Linked DNA regions of Homo sapiens: region 1 is linked to region 2. The links are contacts of gene promoters, found by promoter capture Hi-C in human tissues and cell types (Jung and others, 2019). All regions are on one chromosome and are shown on one strand. Each heading gives the region's core, a stretch centred on a gene start or on the middle of the fragment in contact. The rest is flanking DNA. Distances are from core to core; before and after follow the strand shown.

Region 1 (4,076 bases), core at 429-2,928, 48 kb after region 2:
CTGTCTGCCTCCTGTGTGAGTCCTGCTCTGGCTCTGGGGTCTCTTAGGTTCTCTGGTTCCACCTCAACCTCACTCTGTCCTCACCTGCCCAACATGACTCCCAAAGGCTCCTATCTCTGCTAGCTGCACTCCCAACCCAAATAGCACAAGTCCTTCTGAAAGAGGAGTGTCCCTGAGTTCAAATCCTGGCTCCACTATGTCCCAGCTGGGTGCCCCGGGTGGCCTGGTTCCAGGTCCCTCATCCTTCATCATGACTTTAGATTCCTCTTTGCATGACGAGTTACGTTTGAATTCTAGGTCTACAGCTCCCTGGCTTTGTGACCCTTAGGTGAGTGACTCAACCTTTCTGGGCCTCAGTCCCCTCATCTGTAAAATGGGGATAGTGCTAATAACACCTACCGCATAGCATCACTGCGAAGATTACATGAGTTAACGATTATAGAGAATTCGGCACAGTGCCCAGTCAACACTGCCAATACTACTCACCGTTCACATCTTACCAAGCACACCCTGTGGCCTCTCTTCTATGTAAATCAGTGGTCCTTCATAGCCCCCAGAAACATTTTGGAAATACGTGTAGTGGTCTTGAATGGCACAGTGAAGGGGGTTCCTGTGGCATTCAGTGGACGGCAATCGGGATCCAGCGTGGGACAGTCCCCCGCAAAGACGAGCTGTCCCCCTGTTCCATCCAGTTCTCTCACATCGTGCCCCACCCTCACGTAGCTGAAAAGTCTGCTTGCTGGGAGCTGAATTCTGTTTGACTCATGAATACCAATTGGTTTCGAACACTTCCATTCACTGAAGATTCTAGGGCACTGTGAGTGTGGTGTCAATCAGAGATCAATTGGGTTGGACCTTACTAATCATTGGTCACTGTTGGGAAATCGCATCTCTGATGGCGATGTGGCCACGTACTTGGGGCGCTGACCACGGCCGCGGTCCTCACTGGGATTGTACTTCCCTAAGTGTCTGTTGGTATGTTGGGCCAAGCGCTTCCATCAAGAAATTTCTTTTCTTTCTCCTCTATATTACAGTTAGGACACTATACTGATAAAAAAAAATTACCTTTGCAAGTAGGCCACATTCTCCATGAACTTCATTAAGAATGATAAAGAGGGTATTCCCAAATCCTTCTTATTAAAAGGGGGGTGTTCAGTTTGAGAGGGTTGGGAACTCCTGGCCAGCTCAATTTTCCTAATGTATTTGGGACTGAACCCAGCAAGGAAGGCCCTCCTTTGAAAGGACACCAGGGAAGGTGATGTGTACTCCACATGATAGTATGGCTAATGGTGGCCTTTCAGGCAGTCTCATAGATACTATTTGTGGGGCAGTGATCTGAGTCCGCCCTGTCCCTGTGGGCCTTTCCCACCGCAGCCTCGTGTGCCTGTCCTGGGGCTCACCTCCTGGGCAGGGCCTCTGGATGGGACATTTCCTTGACTCAGAAAGCACCTGGCAGGTGGCTGCCTCCTCATGCCCAGCCCGGCCAGCCTCTCGTACCCGGCTCTCCAGGCCCCAAGCCGAGCCGCAGGTCTTTCCATTGTGTGTGCAGGGGCTCCAGCCGCCCCAGGGACCCAGTTCACACTCCCCTGTGGGGTGAAAGGAGAGACAGACAGACAGACAGACAGGGTCAGCCGGCAGTGAGGGTCCTTCAGATCCAAGGGCAGGGTTTGAGGGGTTCAGTCCTCTGAAGACTGAAGACACCACTTCCACCTGCTAGGAGCAGAGTTATTTATAAGAGCCTGGAATGAGAGCGAAACGAATGCATGCACAGACTAATATGGGCCTGAAGCCAGAGCGGCCGACTGTCTAGCTTTAAAGGAAAGGCTTCCTGGAGGAGGTGATGTATGAGTTAAAGGGAGAGAGGGGAGCTCGTCAGGTGAGAAGAAGGAAGCCCATTCCAGGCAGGTGTGCAAAGCCTTGGGAGCCCGGCCCACCATGTTTGGGAGATGGGGCAGCCTGAGTTGGGAGTCAAGTCTCAGGAAGGCGGGGACAGGAGAGGAGGCTGGAAGGTTGCCTGGGAAGCCCTCAGGACCAGGACACAGGTTTTAAACTTGATCATGTGTCTTTGATCAACTTTGGAAGGAAGAAAAAGGAGGCCATGGACATAAAAGTTCTTCATAGGGGGTAATAAAAATACATATATACATGTATATATATATATACACACACACACACATATATATATACACATATATATACACACACACACATATATATACACATATATATACACACACACACACATATATATATACACATATATACACACATACACACACACACACACACACACACACATATATATATATATATACTTTGATTATTTTAAAAGTCCATGAGAAGTAGGCACAGAATATGGGTAGCTATGAATACTCCTATTTTGTAGATTTGGACACTGAGACCTAGAGCAGAGGTTTGCTAAGGGAACGCAGCAAGAGGCTCACACAGCAGACACAGCAAGCTCAAGACACAGTGGGACCCAGACCTTGCTAGATACACACATTTGACAAGTAAAGACTGAGCACCCAGTGTATGCCAGGTGCTATTCTGGGTGCTGAGGGAGCAGCAGCAGACAAGACAGCCCAGGGTCTGCAGGCCTCCTGGAATTCACCATCTGGACACCGCCGTGATGAGGGAAGTGCAGGCACCGTGGGAGCCCAGAAGCAGCATGGGTTGGGTTGTAGGGGAGGAAACCCCTGGACTGGGTCTTGAAGTGGGGGTGGGATGGCGGGGAAGGGGAGCCTAGCCAGGCTCAGGGAGGGACGGGAGGTGCTCCAAGTGAGGGCATAACCCCAGCAGAGTCCCCAGGATGATTTGGCCTGGAACTGGGCAAGCCGGAGAATAAGCTCAAACTGAGGAGGAAAAAAATGATGGGGGTGGAAAGGCTGGCAGATGGGACAGATTGCCCAGGGCCTGGGTGGGCTCCGCCCAAGGGCAGTGGGAGCCACTGAAGGGTCCTGGGAGGAAAAGAAATTGAGCAGACTATCATTGTGAAATACTCCCTCTGCTGTTGAGTGGAGACTGGGCTGGAGGGACTGAGAACCAAGGCGGGAGACGGGCAGGAGCTGTGGCCAGAACCCTGGCGATAGGCAGGGGGTGGCAAGAGGGTGGGAAGAGGGCGGCACAGAGGACAGAAACAAATGGGTGGGGAGAAAGGGATGAGCTGAATGGTGTGGGTTTGGGAGCTTCGTGCTGCTTCATTTTCACCCCAAAGTTCTTCCTACCACCCAAAATATTATGCATTTGTTCTCAGGTGTCGCTTCTGTCTCTCCACTGAAATGTCATGTCCTTGAGTGCAGAGGCTTTGTCTGTTTTGTTCTGTAATGTGTCTCCAGCACCTAGGAAAGTGCCTGGCCATAGCAGATGCTCTAGTAGATATTTTCAGAGTGAATAAATGAACAGATTGGATTGAATATAGGGTGAGGGAGAGAGAAGAGTCAACAGCGATGTCTGCATCTCGCGCATGCCACCCAGGGATCAGGGAGCTGGTTATTGAAACCCAGAGGAAACCCAGAGGGAGCGTTAGGTGGGGGATGGTGGCAGTGGGAGTGGAAAGAAGGCACCCAGAGGGCAGTGGAGGTGAGGATCAGCTGCTCAGGGAGGCTGGAGACACGGAGTCAGGGGCCATCAGCAGCTGGAATGACCATGAATGTGAGCCCGGAGGGAATGCGTGGGCAGAGAGGCACAGTGTAGATGAGAATGCCAAGGAGCAGCCTAGTGCAGGAACGGGAGGGCTCACAGGCAGGAGTGTGACAAGGAGCTGTTAGGAAATAATCAGAGCAGTAATAACACTGATACTGACACGTACTGAGCATCTACTGTGTGCTGGCTGCTGTACTGAGCACTTTAAATTGTACTAATTCACTTTATCCTCATAACAATTCCTCCCCATGAGGTAGGCTCTATGTTCTATTGTCTTTTTTTTTTTCTAACGTTTGGAGAAACCGAAGGACAGAGAGCTGAGGTGGTTTGCTTAAGATCACTAAAGGGTAAGGTTTAGAGCTAGGATTGGACCCCAGGCCTGTCCTATTCCAAAATCAGTGCTCAGCCAGGTGTGGTGGCTCATACCTATACTC
Region 2 (4,704 bases), core at 916-3,415:
AGAAGTGAGCAAAAGAGACATGGCGCCTGCCCTCTGGGAGCTCACACACCAAAAGAAATGTTTTTAAGAACATTAGGTAGGGATAAGTTCTAAGAAAAAAAAACACAACAAAGCCAGCAGAGGGACAAAGGGTGGAAGAGGAAGGTGGTTATTTCGTACGGGGAGGACAAGGAGGGCCTCTGGGGAGATGGCGCTGGAGAGGATAGGAGGCTGGGGTAAGCAAAGTGGGAGTCTGGGAGAGGGAACTCCAGGGAGTAAGGGTTCTTGCTTTTATTCGGATGCATGGTTAGCCCTGGGAGGAGGGAGAGGATGTAACTTAGGTTTTGATGGGGATTCTTTGGTCTGCTGCATGGAGAACAGGAGGTGGGGGCCGAGTGTTAGCAGGGAGCCAGGGGGGCAGCCAGGACAGCTATCCTGCCTGGAGCCAGAGGTGGTTGTCAAGCTTGTCTGCTGTTTAATACCTTCTAAAACTCCAGGAATTAGTTCGCATCCTTCATTCCTCAGTCATCGCCCAGACTGTCTCCTGGGTCCCTCTCCCTTTCCTTGGTAGCTCTCACTTAGGGACTCTGAAGAGTCCCATCTCAGACCCCCCAGGATGTCTCCTGTACCCTCATGCCCCGCCAGGGCCAAGCCTGCTTTGCACACCTCTGTAGTCAGTGCTTCTCCGAGGGTACACAATAGGTGCTCACACTGCTGAAAGACGAAAGCATGACAGGGCATTCTACAGCAGCCCTGGTCTTGGGCCAAAACCACAGTGGCATCCTCAGCTCCTTGCTTCCTCCCACTCCGCATCCAATTCACCAGCAGAGCTGATGGGCTCTACCTCCAGAACCCACCAGAATCTTACTGGCCACACCCCCTCCTAGCCCCGTTCTGCTCCAGGCCTCCGGTACCTTGCACCTGATGGCTGCAGCGGCCACCTCTTTGGGCTTCTTCCTTCCACCCTGCCTCCTACAGTCTATGCTGTTGAAATCGAATCACGGGTGTCTGTCTCTGCTCACAACCTTGCAGTGGCTCCCATGACACTCAGAACAAAAGCTGAAGTCCTTCCAGTGGCCCCCCCCCCAGCTGCATGGCCTGCCCTGCTGTCACCTCTCAGACCTCCCCGCACCCTTGCTCCCTCTCCTCTGCTCCAGCTACACAGGCCTTCGCCCCATGGTTCTCCAGGCACACACCGCTGCGGATGCATTCCCTCCTCACGGTCAAAATACATGCAGCTCCCTTTGCAGAACGTTCCCTCAAATACCTGCCTGGCCCACTCTATCATTTCCCTTGTTCTCTGGGTTCAAATGTCACCTCCTCTGAGAAGTACTCTCTAATGATCTGACCTCAAGCAGCCACCCAGGGCCGCCACTTGCCCTCTTTCTTCTTCATTTTGCTTCACCATCTGACATAGTAGATTATCTCTTACTGCCTCTTTCCCCTACTAGTCCAGAGGGAGACATACTATACTGTCGTATCCCCAGCACCCAGGAAGGCTTGGTCCGTTCAGCCCTTGGTCAGGGCTGAATGGATTTCTGTTGGATGAATGAAGGGACGGCAGTTAAAGAGCCAGGTTGCCAGCTGACATTGCCCAATCTTGCTGTGTGGCCTCAGACCCACCCCTGCCCCTCTTTGTGCAGCTCAGAGACAGCCCTCTGTGCTCAGGGAAGGCCTCTTGGATGGACACTCCACCTGCTGATTGTGACAGACCCCAAAGCCGCCCTCTGCCCCCTGCAAACCTCCCATGCCCCGTACCTTCTTCAGCCACTGCGTGTTGTTCTGCAGTGCCTGCTCCAGCTGTTTCACCTGCTGGGTGGGCAACTTCCCCAGGTGCAGTGGGTTGGCCAGTGATTCTCTCTGGAGGGTGTTGGAGTCCCTGGAGACCTCAGGCCCCGGAGGGCAGGGCTCAGACTTGGGCAGCAAGAAGGTGTAGCTACAGTGGCCGTGCTGGACTACAAGTGTCTCGCAGCCCCTATCCGCCTCCTGCCTTGTCTGTTGAGCCACAGACATGGTGGCAACCACAAGGAGGAGGCTGCCCTGCAGCATGGCTAGCTGGGAGAGCATCTGAAGATGTGTCAATGGCGAGGGATGTCTGCTCAGAGCCCTAGGGGCTGTGCCTGGGATGTCCTGCTGCAGCCAACAGTGGCCAGGCTTGCCTGCAGCTGCAGCTACAAACCTCTGTCTGGCCGAGCTCTGTCCAGGCAGCTATTTATACTTGCTCTGAATACCACGGCTGCTCTGCTTGCTTCCTCTCACCGCCTCCCTCCGGCCCCACCCGACACCCTCTCACCTCTATTCTTCACTCCTTCCCTTCCTCCTTCCTCAGTCTTGGTGGCACGTCGCCCTTACCCTAAGCGTGCACCAACCTTGCTCTGTCTGCCTCACCTCTGAGCCCTCTGATTATCCAGTGAGGCCTGGCTTCCCTGCTGGAGGGGAGGGAAGAAAACAGCACACAGACACGCGCACACACTCATGCACACACTCACGAGCACACACTCACACGCACGCTGACACGCACACACATTCATGTACACACAAACGCCAAGCTCCAATGCTGCCCGCTTTGGAAAACCAAATGCAACTTAACTCTCCCTTCCTGTCTCTGTCTTGGTCTCCCTCTTTCCCTCCACCCCCATCCCCTGCCCCCCAAGTCTAAGATCTCAAGTTTCAGTCCCGCTGCCATCCCCTTCTCTCCCCGCTGCACCTTCCTCCCTCTGGTTCCATGTTAGCGCTTGGAGTACAAGTGACCCCCGGAGAGAGCAGAGGGAGGGGAGGAGGCAGAGGGGTGAGGCTGGGGAGGGCCCAGCGAATCCACTTTGCCTCTGGAGACACAGAAAATCCTTCCAAGGTGGGGCAAGTGAGCAACCCAGCTGGGAGTTGCTTCCTGTCCTCTCTTCTCCCTCAGGGCCAGGGGAAAGTGGTATGCCCCAGGATGGCCCTGGCTTGGTTGCTTGTAACAGTAATGAGAAGTTGTCATGTCCTGGGGCAGATTGTCCTGGGGCTGCTGGAGTGGGGATGTGGAGAGGAGGCAGTGGGGAGAGGAGGTTGGAGTGCCAGGAGGCTAACCCTAGATCTCGCTCCCCGACAGCTGGCCACGAGACCTAGGGTGGGCAGCTGTGCCTCTCTGGGCCTCCACACCCTGATCTGTAAACTGGGTAAACCTTATCTCTTGCAGGAGGAATGCGTGTGAGTCCTCAGCATGGGGATGGAGAAGTTTTCAGCTTCTGGGTTCAAATCCTGGCTCTACCATCTACCAGCTGTATGACTTTGAGTAAGTCACTTAACCTCTCTGTGCCTTCATTTCCTCCTGAATGAGGAAAATAATACCACCTACTTCACATGGCATGAAAATTAGGTGAGTTAGAGCAAGGTTGGCACAGAGCGAGCACTAAATAAATATTTTCCGTTGTCAATGTTATAGTTGTCATTGCACCTCCCCTCCCACGACCCACTGGAGCATAAACTCCTCTAGGGCAGGGATTTGTCCCTGGGGGACATGGTCTCCAGGCAGAAGGTGCCCAGGAGTTGGTGGGGCCTTTCCTGCATGGGCTGCCTTTATGTTCTGCCAGCTGTTTGGGCTTTTCCTCTCTCCCTGCTTGTTTCCTCAGAGTAGGGGCCAGTCTGGCTGTTTAGTATTTTCCTTTTTGTTCTCTCAAATCCCGATAGAGTTTTGAATTGGGGCAGGCTGCTTCTGGGCAGCTGTGAACTGTGGTCTCATCTGGGGACTGAGAACATTATACCAGGTGTGGGGCTTTTGCAGGCAAAGGAAAAGCAGCTGGTTATCAGCCTCCAGCCTCCCCTGAGCCTTCCCACATGCTCTGAGCTCTGCGTGCCCCGCTTGGCCCCAGTTGCCTCAGCTGTAAATGGGGTCATAGCACCCTGACCATGTGAGAGTAATGTGGACTGATAGCTTATCACAGCTCTGGGTGCAGAGAAGGGCAGTGTGAATGGTGGTCGTCATTATGATTGTCTTGACTGAGCTGCTTGATAATCCCAACGAGGCAGTTACACCAGGCCCCAAGCTTAGATGGGCCCCATGCTTGGTTTACACTCTGCCAGCACTGTCTTGAAATTCTTAATACATTTGGAACAAAGTACTCAGCACTTGCATTCTTCATTGAGTTCCACAAATTAGGTAGCAGGCCCTGCCTGGGAAACATGAGGCTTCCCTCATCCCTCACTCTGCTCCTGACCTTACCATCCAATCAGACCTGTTCTTCCAACATGATCCTTTAGATATTTCCCCCTCTGTCACCTCTTCACTACTCAGAATGCTGGAGCCAGCACATCTGGATCGGAATCTTGGCTTTCCTGACCCCCTATTTGTGTGCCTTTTGCCAAGTTGCCTAACCTGTCTCTCAGTTTCCTCTTCTGTCAAAATAGTGATGTTACAGTGGCTAAAAGACCGATTCCTGCAGTGAGGTTAACACAGAGCCTTTCACATAATACATGCTCAACCAGTGACAGCTGTCATCATTACTCCCTGCTATGATATGAATGTTTGTGTGCCCCCAAATTGATCTATTGAAACTTAGTCAACAAGGTGATGGTATTAGAAGGTGGGGCCTTTGGGAGTGAATAGCTCGTGAGGACTCTGCCTTGGGAATGAGATTAACGCTCCTATCAAACATGTCCTAGACAGCTGGCCTTCCCTTTTGCTAGGTGACGTTGCAGTAAGAAAGCACCGTCTATGAAGCAGGGAGCTCTCACCAGACACCAGAT

The links. Contacts are between HindIII fragments. The study calls those that stand out against the background at their distance.
Region 1: a contact is called between a fragment that was not itself captured here and the fragment with the promoter of ANGPT4 in region 2, in 1 of the 25 tissues and cell types used here (lymphoblastoid cells).

The regions. Positions count from the first base shown.
Region 1 is chr20:962,535-966,610 of GRCh38, forward strand. It overlaps RSPO4 (R-spondin 4), which reads right to left. Exons shown (of 5, transcript NM_001029871.4): 4 at 1,401-1,586. Among named protein-coding and RNA genes, the nearest start is that of RSPO4, 38 kb to the right of the region's middle. The HindIII fragment of the contact is 9,060 bases long and covers 1-4,076 here.
Region 2 is chr20:914,169-918,872 of GRCh38, forward strand. It overlaps ANGPT4 (angiopoietin 4), which reads right to left and starts at 2,166. Exons shown (of 9, transcript NM_015985.4): 1 at 1,738-2,166. The coding sequence starts at 2,046. LOC105372492 (a long non-coding RNA gene) reads left to right here. Exons shown (of 3, transcript XR_937185.3): 2 at 3,158-3,253. The HindIII fragment of the contact is 12,950 bases long and covers 1-4,704 here.